Regions from separate parts of the Homo sapiens genome. Here regions 1, 2 and 3 are each linked to region 4. The links are contacts of gene promoters, found by promoter capture Hi-C in human tissues and cell types (Jung and others, 2019). All regions are on one chromosome and are shown on one strand. Each heading gives the region's core, a stretch centred on a gene start or on the middle of the fragment in contact. The rest is flanking DNA. Distances are from core to core; before and after follow the strand shown.

Region 1 (2,807 bases), core at 232-2,731, 370 kb after region 4:
TTGTTAAATCTAGATTGAGGTATAGGGGATTAGGGGATTCATTGTAATTTTTTTTTTTTTTTTTTTGAGACAGGGTCTCACTCTGTTGCCCTGGAGTGCAATGATGCAATCACAGCTCACTGCAGCTCAACGTCCTGGGCTCAAGCAATCCTCCCACCTCAGCCTCCCGAGTAGCTGGGACTACAGTTGTGCACCATCATGCCCAGCTAATTAAAAAAAAATTTTTTTTTGAGTCAGAGTCTTGCTCTGTTGCCCAGGCTGGAGTGCAGTGGTGCAATCTCGGCTCACTGCAAGCTCTGTCTCCCAGGTTCACGCCATTCTCCTGCCTCAGCCTCCCGAGTAGCTGGGACTACAGGCACCCACCACCATACCTTGCTAATTTTTTGTATTTTTCATAGAGATGGGGTTTCACTGTGTTAGCCAGGATGGTCTCAATCTCCTGACCTTGTGATCTGCGCACCTCGGCCTCCCAAAGTGCTGGCATTACAGGCGTGAGCCACCACGCCTGGCCCCTAAAATTTTTTTGTAGAGATGGGGGTCTCACTATGTTGTCCAGGCTGGTCTCGAACTTGTGACCTCAAGTAGTCCTCCTGCCTTGGCCTCCCAAAGTTTTGGGATTATAGGCATGAGCCATCATGCCTGGCTTCATTGTAATTAAAACAACAACAACAAAAAAACCTTTTCTGAAAGGAAGAGTTCTTTGTGAATACTGAGGGTTATCTTTTTAAAAGGAAAAAACTGAAAGGGAAAGCTTTCATAATAAAAAGTCATAATTTTTAAAAAAAGGAGGCCAGGCACAGTGGCTCACGCCTGTAATCCCAGCACTTTGGGAGGCCAAGGCGGGTGGATCACGAGGTCAGGAGATCGAGACCATCCTGGCTAACAAGGTGAAACCTTGTCTCTACTAAAAATACAAAAAATTAGCCAGGCGTGGTGGTGGGAGCCTGTAGTCCCAGCTACTCGGGAGGCTGAGGCAGGAGAATGGCGTGAACCTGGGAGGTGGAGCTTGCAGTGAGCTAATATCGTGCCACTGCACTCCAGCCTGGGTGACGGAGCGAGACTCCATCTCAAAAAAAAAAAAAAAAAAAAAAAAGGAAGAGGGCCAGGTGCAATGGTTCACGCCTGTAATCCCAGCACTTTGGGGAGCTGAGGTAGGCAGATCACTTGAGGTCAGGAGTTCGAGACCAGCCTGGCCAACTTGGCGAAACCCTGTCTCTACTAAAAATACAAAAATTGGCCAGGTGTGGTGGCACACGTCTGTAATCCCACTGGCTGGGGCAAGATAATTGCTTGAACCTGGGAGGCGGAGGTTGCAGTGAGCTGAGATCATGTCACTGCACTCCAGCCTGGGTGACAGAGCAAGGCTCTGTCTCAGAAAAAAAAACAAAACGGTACCTTATCAAGGAAGCTAGGTGGGAAATGATCCCAGAGACTCTTCATTCTCTGGCTGGATCCAGTGAAGTGGCAAAGGTAAAACATCAAGCAGAGAGCCTATCCACAGAAGAAACTCAACAAATGCTGATTCCTTCCCGCCTCCCTTCCTCAGAGTTGTATTAACTTATCTCTGTGTGGAAGACAGAAACACACTCATCATACCATTCCCCGCCATCATCTCCTCTTGAGGATCCTTTGGGACATTTTCTTCCCGCGCAGCCTCGAGGGAGCACTCTTCTGAAGCGTGTCTCAAACGCTCGGGGTCTGCTCTCTTGAACTGCTGCATTCGCTGTAGGACCAATTGTGCTGTGCGGGGTTTGGAGGGACTTGGCACTGCTGTTGTCAAACAGGAAGGAGGAGGCTGGGAGTCGCTGTTGGGCACATTCTCTGGCAAGGAGGAAAATATTCACAACCATCTGTTGTAGCTGGAGAAATAAAAGACTTTTCTACCAGATACAGGTTAGACGCAAGTTTCAAGAGTCCTTTATCAACTAGTTTAGGTTTGACTCACAAATGTGAAGAGGACTGGTTGCTTGTTGGTAACCTCTTTGTTTATGGCAATATAGACATAAATATCAATAACAGGAGGGGAATGGGATGTGACTGCTAATGAGCATGGGGTTTATTTTTAGGATGATAAAACTGTTCTAACGTTAGGTAGTGGTGGTGGTTGGACAAGTCTGTGAATATACTAAAAACCACTGAACCATACCCTTTTAAATGGTGAATTTTATGGAATATCAATTATACCCCAATAAAGCTATTATTAAAGAAATATTAATGACAAAGGTTTATGTCCTAGATCAGTTCTTCTTTAACTTGGGATCCACGGATGATCTTCAGTGGGGATCCATGAACCCCATGAAGTTGTGTGCCAGTTTTGCAGATACGCGCATGGATACGTGTTTTGGGGGAACCATGCATAGATTTCATCCGACTGGCAAAGAGCACGAGAGACCAGTAAAGTTGGTGAGGCAACACTGCTGATGCCTTCCAGTAGTCTATGCGACCTGAGACTCTACCACCACTCTACTGAGAGGTTATTAAGATCAGGAAGTGAGGGCAAAGGAAATTTAGAAACAGAACTCAGGAGCTCAGAGAGCCCATGGTGTATTATATATGCAAGGGTAGTTTTCAGTTTTGCATGAAGAATGTGTAGTAAGCATATAGCTCAGTATACCAAGGGCAGCAGGGCAAGAAAACTGCTTTAAACAGTTAAAAAATTATCCAGGCACGGTGGTGGGTGCCTGTGGTCCCAGCTACTCGGGAGGCTGAGGCAGGGAGGACTGCTTGAACCTGGGAGGTCAAGGCTGCAGTAAGCTATGATAGCACCACTGCACTCCAGCCTGGGTGAGAGACCAAGATCCTGTCTC
Region 2 (3,174 bases), core at 552-3,051, 290 kb after region 4:
TGTCTGAAATCTCAGCTACTCATGAAGCTGGGGCGGGGGGTTCTCTTGAGCCCAGGAGTTTGAGACCAGCCTGGGCAGCATAATGAAACCCCATCTCTAAAAATTTTTAAAAATTACCTCAGTATGGTGATACACACCTGTAGTCCCAGCTACTTGGGAGGCTGAGGCGGGAGGATTGCTTGAGCCCAGGAGGTTGAGGCTGCAGTGAGCTATGGTTGCATCACTGCACTCCAGCCTGAGCCACAGAACAAGGCCGAGTAACAGAACAAGGCCCTGACTCTAAAAGAAAAAAAAAGTTAGAACAAAGACTTAAGAGAATAGAATGTGATCTTAACTCTTCTCAAGCAATGAAAAAAAGCCTTACATAAGGGTATCTTCACCTCAAATGTACATGTGTTGCCTGTCATAACAAGCAGATGGCTAAACTCATTCTCTTTACTGCTTGCGGTATGTCTGGAAAACTGCTTAAAGCTTGAACTGCCCTTTAAGCTTTTATAGCTTCTTGGAACTCAAGGCAGAGTAAGTGAATCCAGACGGGGAAATCCAGACGTGGTCTCCTAAGATCTTGCCATAAATTAGGTAGAAACAGAAACATACTCCTGCCTGTTTGTTGGCATAGATTTTAGACTTTATTTAAACCTTGATCATTCCTCACCAGTCAGTAATTCATCTTTCTTCCTACGTTACCTCATTGGAAATATATTTCCCAGGAATACCGATGGAGAATAGTGGTGCCGGCTCTCTCTCTCTTCTCTTCCTCGTTCTGTGCCTCTTTCCCTCCCCCATGCTTCTGCTCTTTCTCCCTTTTCATTCACCCTTTATTTTTCTTTCTTCTTGGCTCCCTCCTCTTCCCAGCTGCCTACTCTGCTCGGATGTTTTGCCTTTTTGGATGTTGGTGGCTGGCTACACCCTGCCCACTGTCCCGAGGTCTGTGGGGAGGCAGCACCTGGAGGCAGCGACAGCAACCACAGGGAGCGCCCTGGCTCCTCCCTGCCCAGCGCAAGGCCAAGGCCCTTCCCCTCCTGAAACTGGCTCTTTACCTCTGGAGCCTCAGAGAGGGAAAAAAAAAAAAACAGAAGTCATTGCCGCCATATAGATTGATCTCCTTGACACATTCCACTTTTAAAGCATCAATTCATTTTTGTTAAGCTCCAAATCATTTTAACAGAAAAGTCTCTTTGTTTTGCTCTAGTTCAAAAGATTATAATTATTTCTGAGTTTATCTGCTTATATTTTTAAAAGAGTAGAATTTTCCCTTTAAGGTCAATAATAAGAAAAAAGAAAAAGTTCAGCAAACCAGTATAGATTTTTATGGTTTTTTTTGTTTTTGTTTTTTTTTTTTGAGTTGGAGTTTCGCTCTTGTTGCCGAGGCTGGAGTGCAATGGCGCGATCCCGGCTCACTGCAAACTCTGCCTCCCGGATTCAAGCGATTCTCCTGCCTCAGCCTCTCAAGTAGCTGGGATTACAGGCGGCCGCCACCACGCCCAGCTAATTTTTGTATTTTTAGTAGAGACGGAGTTTCACCATGTTGGCCAGGCTGGTCTTGAACTCCTGACCTTGTGATCCACCTGCCTTGGCCTCCCAAAGTGCTGGGATTACAGGCATGAGTCATCATCACGCCTGGCCTTTTTAAAAAATTTTTTATCGTTTAAAAACCTCTTTAGACTGGGCACAGTGATTCACGTCTATAATCCCAGCACTTTGAGAGGCCAAGGCGGGCAGATCGCTTGAACTCAGGGGTTCAAGACCAGCCTGGGCAATATGGCGAAACCCCATCTCTACAAAAAAAAAATATAAAAAATAGCTGGGCATAGTGGCACATGTCTGTAGTCCCAGCTACTTGGGGGCCTGAGACAGGAGGATCACCTGAGCCCAGGCGTTCGATGCTGCAGTAAGCCATGATCACACCACTGCACTGTAGCCTGGGTGACAAAGTGAGACCCTGTCTCAACAAACAAAAAAAAACCACCAGCCTTAATTCGTAACAACCTGTGGTCCCCTTTTTAGAGGATTGCTTTAAATTTATAATATCCTGACAGTAGAACATTATTATTATTATTATTATTTCTTTTGAGATGGAGTCTCTCTGTGTTGCCTAGGCTGGAGTGCAGTGGCGCAATCTCGGCTCACTGCAACCTCCACCTCCCAGGTTCAAGCAGTTCTCCTGCCTCAGCCACCCGAGTAGCTGGGATTACAGGCATGTGCCACCACGCCTGGCTAATGTTTGTATTTTTAGTAGAGACGAGGTTTCACCATGTTGGCCAGGCTGGTCTGAAACTCCTGACCTCAGTTGATCCACCCGCCTCAGTCTCCCAAAGTGCTGGGATTACAGGCGTGCGCCACCGCACCCGGCCAACAGTAGAACATTATACCCAAATAAGATAATAATATATATATTTATTGATTTGGAGAGATGTGTCTGGTATGTGATTTTTTTGCCTTTAGAGATGGGGTCTCAATGTGTCACCCAGGCTGGAGGGCTGGAGTGCCACGGCAAGGTCAGAGGATCCTCACTCACTGCAGCCTTGAACTCCAGGGCTCAATCCTCCTCCTACTTCAGCCTCCCAAAGTGCTAGGGTTACAGGTGTGAGCCGATGCACCCAGCCTGATCATTTTTAACTCTATTGAGATTACGGTATATTGAAATGAAATAAAGATTATAAAATTTCTTGGTATATTTAATTTTTTTTTTAAATGCATTCCTATCTATATTTATGCATAGAAAAGTCTGGAAGGATGTATGTCAACTATCAAGCGCTTATACCTGGTGATGGGATTATCAGTAATTTTTACGTCATTCTTCATACTTTCAGGATTATTTCAAGTTTTTACAAAGAGCACATCTTATTTATGATGAAAAAGAAGTATGTTCATTTTGGGGGGAGAAAGCAGAAAAGGGAAAATATTTTTAAGCATTACAAGAATGAAGGACCTTCTCTAATTAAGGGTTTCCAGAGAAAGCCACCATGGAATCTGAAACTGTGAATACCCATTTCAAACTACTGCATATAATTCACCTTTCCTTTTTATTTCATTTGCTTCTTTTAGGCCATGTTTTATGGATGAGTATGAGAAGACTGAGGAAGAATTACAAAAGCAGTATGACACTTATCTGGAGAAATTTCAAAATCTGACTTATCTGGAACAACAGCTTGAAGACCATCATAGGATGGA
Region 3 (3,123 bases), core at 291-2,790, 270 kb before region 4:
ACCGCCATTGTGCAGGCCTGCCCCTAGGACATCCTCTGTGGACTGGAGCCCGGGAGGACTTCACTGAGCCCCCGCCAAGAGAAACCGGGCAGACAGGTGGTCCCGGATGCTCCCTCGTCGGGAAGCGCAGTTGGGTTCCAGGGAGCCCGTGGGTGCTGGAGGCCCCAGCTCAGGGCTCAGTGAGCCGGGCCAGCCTGGCCTCTGAGAGGGCTCCCGGAGGAGGCGACCAGGACCCTGGCCTAGAGTCTCAGCAAGTCCATCTCCTTCAAATGCCCCCACCTCGGCTCCACGCCCCTCCTCCAGAGCACACTCGCGTGAGGCGCCAGCTGGAAGATCCTCGCGGGTCCCAGCACCGCAGTGGGTGCCTGGGCCTGACAGAACCTCCCTGAACCCCATCTTTCTTCTCCATCGACACCGGGGCAGAGACGGTGTGGGGGCTGCAGGGCGGGGACTGGTCGGCCTGGGCTCGACAGCTTGGCGAGGGCCTGGTGCGGGCTGGGCAGGCTGGACTGAGGGGCAAAGAGGTCTGGGCGGGGCGGGGCCGCTCTGGGCGCCCGGCCCCCACCAGTTCCTTCCCCCGGCCCCCGCCTCCGCCCTCCCACGCACCTGCGCTGGCCTCCCCCCAAGCCCTGGGGGCAGCGGGCGGGTGGCGCTGGGAGATCAGAGGACTCGGAGGAGTCGGGCCCAGGGGGAGGGGGCGGGGAATTTCCCCCCACGCCTGCCTGGGCCTGCTCCCCTCCCCCTCCCCCGCCAGGTGGGGGGCACGGCTGGGGGAATTCCACTGCAGTGTGAAGGCTCGGGAGAGTCTGGGCTGGGGGTCCCAGGGAAGGGCGGGGCAGGGGGAGGAGGAGGGGACAGACTGGGACCTGGGGCGCAGCTGCCTTTCTCCCCAGACACCAGCTGCCCCTGCCTGTCCCGGACTGAGCGTCCACGACTCCCGCCTGTCTCGTGGGCGCGGGGGCAGGGAGTGGAGCTTCCTCCGTCAGGCCAGCGGCATCTGGACCAGGGGCGGGAGGGGCGTGCGGATCCGAAGAAAGTGTGCGCGTGAGCGCCTGGCAATGAATGGGAGAGAGTGCGAGCGCGTGCGTGCACTGGGAGGAGGGCGCTTGTAACTCGGACATTCCGGGTGTCCTGGGGCGCGTGCGACCACGTGAGGGGGTTCTGTATCTCCCATTTTAAGGGCCTTCCGTCCGCTTGCCCCGCCTGTCCCCCTCCACACCTTCCCACTTGAACCGGCACCGACCTGAGGGAGAGGGGGCCGGGAAGCGCTGGACGCCCGGGGTCGGGGGAACGGGCGTGGGAGGCGTCTGGACCTGCTGCCTCCGCTCCAGTGCTGGGCGGGGCTTCCCGGCCTCCCATGGGGGGAGGGAGAGACCCAGGGGGAGGGACCCACGGAGGGATGCGAGGCGGGCAGGAGTCAGCCCGTTGGAGACCTGGGCGAGGGAGACGCCGAGAGCTAGGCTCAGTGGGAGGGGGCGGGCGTAGAGGCTGAGGCACCGCCCAGAGCTCGCTGAGACAGAGACTGAGAACGCCCCCGGCCAGATTCCCCCCGGAGAGACCCGGGTAGGGACAGGGACAGAGAGACGCCTCTAGGGGCAGAGGCCCTGGGAGGCAAAGACCCCCAGGAGAGATTTACCCACCCCAGACGGAAAGCGCGGCTCAGAGTCGGACGAGGGGAGACTGTCAGAGGACAACGCCCCCTAGGTCTCCTGGGAGACCCCGAAGCGACCCCGGGGGCAGCCCGGGCCGTGTCCGGGCGAGGGTGACCTATCCTTGGTTGAGAGCGATGGGGACACAAGCCCTGCAGGGCTTCCTCTTTCTCCTCTTCCTCCCGCTGCTGCAGCCGCGTGGGGCCTCGGCTGGGAGCCTGCACAGTCCAGGTAAGTCCCCGCACGGCTGTCGGGCCGTGTTCACCACCCCTTCCTCGGCCTCCGCCCCCAGGGCCAGGCCCCCAAGGCTAGGGAGGGGGACAGAGCAGGTGGCCGGAGCAGCTGAGCAGCCCGAGGGCTCCTGCAGGGGCGGGTGCGGGGTCGCTGGCTGGGGACCCAGGCGGGAGGTGGCGTAGGGGCGCGAGGATGCCCGGCGTGGGTCCGGACCTCCCCAGGCCCTGCCTTTGCCGTGCAGGCCTGTCCGAATGCTTCCAGGTGAATGGGGCTGACTACCGCGGCCACCAGAACCGCACTGGCCCGCGCGGGGCGGGCCGCCCGTGCCTCTTCTGGGACCAGACGCAGCAACACAGCTACAGCAGCGCCAGCGACCCCCACGGCCGCTGGGGGCTGGGCGCGCACAACTTCTGCCGGTGAGGGGCGGGGCCTGCGCTGGGGGCGAGGCTGGGCTCACCATTGCAGGGATGGCCCGAAGCGGGGCCTCCGTGCGGGCGGGGTGGAGGTCTGCCGTGGACTGGCAGCCCAGCCTCCTGGAGAACCTGGGGGCGGGGCCAGAATGAGGGGCGGGGCGGGGCGGGGCGGGGCGCGCGGAACCCTGGCGCAAAAGGGATCCTCCTCAGGTGAACAATTTCTGCAGAGCTCCAGTTCAGGGCCAGGAGAGAAACGGACCTGGGCACTCAAAGGACCCGTATGGGCGGGGCCTGGTCAGAGCGGGGGCCGAATGGGCGGGGCCTTGTCAGAGTGGGGCTCTTGTCATACAACTTATTTTGGGGTTCAGAGCCACAGCTACGGTCTGAGGCAGGATGGACCCAGCGGGAGGAGAGCCGCAAAGCTCAGGAGCTCACTTCTGCTTTTAAGTGGGGTTGGAGGCCAGGCGCGGTGGCTCAGCCTGTAATCCCAGCACTTTGGGAGGCCAAGGCAGGCGGATCATCTGAGGTCAGGAGTTCGAGACCAGCCTGGCTACCATGGTGAAACCCCATTTCTACTAAAAATACAAAAAATTAGCGGGGCATGGTGGCGGGCGCCTGTAATCCCAGCTACTCAGGAGGCTGAGGCAGGAGAATCGCTTGAACCCGGGAGGCGGAGCTTGCAGTGAGCAGAGATCGCGCCAATGCACTCTAGCCTGGGTGACAGAGCGAGACTCGTCTCAAAAAAAAAAAAAAAAAGTGGGGTTTGAGGGACGGAAGTGGCTGAGGCCCATGCCGGGTGGGGGTGAAGAATACAGATGGCCTCAAAG
Region 4 (2,783 bases), core at 265-2,764:
CGTTAGTGGCATCTCGAAGTAGGTCTTGGCCCAGCTTGGAGTCTGGCGGAACTCTCAGTATAAAGGACTGCTTTGGCTTTGGGGGCATAGGAACCACTTTTGCAGCCATCATGCCTTGCAACCACACACCACACTCGTTTCGCGGGGCCTCCAGAGCCACCTCTTACTAGAGGAAATCTGCCAGAGAGCCAAGCTGTAGACAGAGAAACCAGGGATTACCCAAAAGACCAGGCACGGCATTACTGCACTCCAATATGTGGCATGGCTGGTGAGGCTACATGAGATCTAAAGAAAACGACAGCTGGGATAGGGAAATCATAACTGAAACGCAGTATTTGAACAAGATATGCTTAGGAAGATGTGAAAGGAAGATCCTGAGAATGAAAAACAGAGACTGTGCAAACCTCAAGTCCAAAGGGAAGGGAGTAAGGGTGGAGCGGAGAAGGCCAAGGTCCAGCCTCCTGAGAAATACAAAGTGTGGCCAGGTACCGGTGGCTCACACCTGTAATCCCAGCACTTTGGAAGGCCCTGGCGGGTGGATCGCTTGAGTCCAGGAGTTCAAGACCAGCCTGGGCAACACAGCAAGACACCGACTCCATAAAAAAAAAAAAAATTAGCTGGGCGTGGCGACACAAGCCTGTGGTCCCAGCTACTGGGGAGCTGGGAGGATTGCTTGTGCCCAGGAGGTCGAGGCTGCAGTGAACTGTGATCGCGCCACTGCACTGCAGTCTGAGCGACAAAGCAAGACCCTGACTCTAAAAAAAGAAAGGAAAAGAGAAAGGAAAGAAGGAGGAAGGGAATCAGGGAAGAGAAAGAAAATAAAAGGAAAAAGAAAGAAAAGACAGAAAGAAAGACGGTGTGTAAAACCCACCAGGAATAGGTTAAATCAGGCTTGGAGAAAGAGCAATGGGCTAGAAGACAGGAAATCTGGGGTCAATACCGAGGACATCTGCCTAAAAGCAGGTTGGTCACTGAATCTGGCCATACTGTACCCCTCGAACCGAAGCTCCCTCCGGTGCCCTTTGGGCGGGGAGGCGGTTGGTGACTCTCCCGGGGAGCAGATGCAAGGCCGAGGAGGTGTCCACACACCGCCTGCCGACTCCTCTCCGCCGTCAAAGCTCTGCTGAGAGCGGCAGGCGACATCCCACTAAGGACCGCCGGGCCAGGCTCACTCTGGGGCCTCTTCCGCTGGTCAAGGAACACCTTTACCGTAAAGCTCAGCGTGCGCCCCTGCCTGAGGCGCTCACCAGGCTCCCTACCCGGCCTTGCTCCCTCAGCAACGGACACGCTCCGCTCCCCAGAGGCGGCCTCAGCCTGGTTCCCGCCCTCACGGAGCCCCTCACCTCTCGGGGCCTCTGCAGCCCCTGAGCGTTTGCTGGGGACGGCTCAGAGACTCAGGCTCCGGGAGAGATAGAAAAACTAGGCGCGAGCGGTCGAGCCCTCCCCTCGCCCTTCCGAGTGCCCTCACAGGTCGCCGGCGACTATTCGTTCGCGCCGCCGCCAGTTGAGGAGAACGGCAGGGACTCGGTGCCTTCTGGGAAGTCGGGCGCTCTGCGGCTGTGACGTCACAACCGGTGCCTTGTTTCCGGTGCAGAAGCCTGGTCTCCCCGTTCGGAGCCGGCAGTCTGCGCTTGAGACGTTAAGACTTGAGACAGGCCAGAGGAGCTCTCAGGGCCGGAGGGAGGCCAGGACGGCTGTAGCCTCTCTGTGGTTCTGCCTGGAAGACGGAAGGCAGGTGGTTGGCTCTAGTCATCCACGACGGGCTGGCACCTCTCCAGCTGCGGCCAGTCTAACCCCAGGGCCTGCTGGGAAATGTAGTTCGAATGCAAACAACCAATGGACGACCGTCAGGCGCGGCGGTTGGGGCGGGGCAGGCCCCCCCACCGCCCCACCCCCCGCCCACCCAGCGCCCGCGCTCCCCCCACCCCCCACCCCGCCACCCCCCTACCCCGCCACTCCCCCACCGCCCTACTCTCCCCACCCCCCACCCCCCTACTCTCCCCACCCCCCACCCCCCACCCCGCCACCCCCCACGGCGCCACCCCCCAACCCCCACCCCCCTACTCTCCCCACCCCCCTACTCTCCCCACCCCCCTACTCTCCCCACCCCCTACTCTCCCCACCCCCCTACTCTCCCCACCCCCCCACCCCCTACTCTCCCCACCCCCCTACTCTCCCCACCCCCCTACTCTCCCCACCCCCCCACCCCCTACCCTCCCCACCCCCCCACCCCCCTACCCTCCCCACCCCCCTACCCTCCCCACCCCCCTACCCTCCCCACCCCCCTACCCCGAGGCTTAAAGGAAGCAAGCTATCTCTCCGACCGGAAAATCAAGACGCCTCCGCGGTTTCCGCCTTTTACTGCGGTTCTCCAGTAAAAAGACTGCGGAGGCGGACAGGGTGTGGCCGCCATGGGACTCCGCCCCCGCTCTGGTGACTCCCATAGGTTAGAGATGGGGCACCGACATTGCCCACTCCAGCTTGCTAACTTCTACACTGCTGTCCGCACCGGCCGTCTTGTTTTTAAAGACATCTTAATTGCCCTTCTCCTACTGTCTCGGTTTCCTTTCTCAATTTCAGCTTCCTACGGAGGCCGAACAGAGTTTTGTGTTTGTGCGTTGTATCCACACTCGGTTCGTTCCCCAGTGACGCACTGATCAGGGTTCGGACAACTTGTGGGCAGGGATGGCCTTATTTCTCGATGTAATACCAGCCTCCAGAAAGTTGACAAAAGTAAAAATATAAATGAATGCCTCTTCTTAAAGTTAATTATACCTGACTAA

What was found. Contacts are between HindIII fragments. The study calls those that stand out against the background at their distance.
Region 1: a contact is called between a fragment that was not itself captured here and the fragment with the promoter of ZNF200 in region 4, in 2 of the 25 tissues and cell types used here (IMR-90 fibroblasts and dorsolateral prefrontal cortex).
Region 2: a fragment that was not itself captured here is called in contact with the fragment with the promoter of ZNF200 in region 4 in 1 of the 25 tissues and cell types used here (bladder).
Region 3: a contact is called between the fragment with the promoter of KREMEN2 here and the fragment with the promoter of ZNF200 in region 4, in 1 of the 25 tissues and cell types used here (spleen).

The regions. Positions count from the first base shown.
Region 1 is chr16:3,604,878-3,607,684 of GRCh38, forward strand. SLX4 (SLX4 structure-specific endonuclease subunit) reads right to left here. Exons shown (of 15, transcript NM_032444.4): 3 at 1,597-1,821. Among named protein-coding and RNA genes, the nearest start is that of SLX4, 5.3 kb to the right of the region's middle. The HindIII fragment of the contact is 4,547 bases long and covers 1-2,807 here.
Region 2 is chr16:3,520,110-3,523,283 of GRCh38, forward strand. CLUAP1 (clusterin associated protein 1) reads left to right here. Exons shown (of 12, transcript NM_015041.3): 8 at 3,049-3,174. Among named protein-coding and RNA genes, the nearest start is that of CLUAP1, 21 kb to the left of the region's middle. The HindIII fragment of the contact is 3,871 bases long and covers 1-3,174 here.
Region 3 is chr16:2,962,735-2,965,857 of GRCh38, forward strand. KREMEN2 (kringle containing transmembrane protein 2) reads left to right here and starts at 1,541. Exons shown (of 9, transcript NM_172229.3): 1 at 1,541-1,880; 2 at 2,125-2,299. The coding sequence starts at 1,787. RefSeq lists enhancers at 1-773, 260-389, 2,358-3,123, 2,920-3,039 and silencers at 470-549, 580-709, 1,260-1,339, 1,870-2,119, 2,190-2,559. The HindIII fragment of the contact is 31,540 bases long and covers 1-3,123 here.
Region 4 is chr16:3,233,644-3,236,426 of GRCh38, forward strand. It overlaps ZNF200 (zinc finger protein 200), which reads right to left and starts at 1,515. Exons shown (of 5, transcript NM_198088.3): 1 at 1,344-1,515; 2 at 1-193. The coding sequence starts at 112. RefSeq lists enhancers at 1,554-1,613, 1,624-1,833. The HindIII fragment of the contact is 11,744 bases long and covers 1-2,783 here.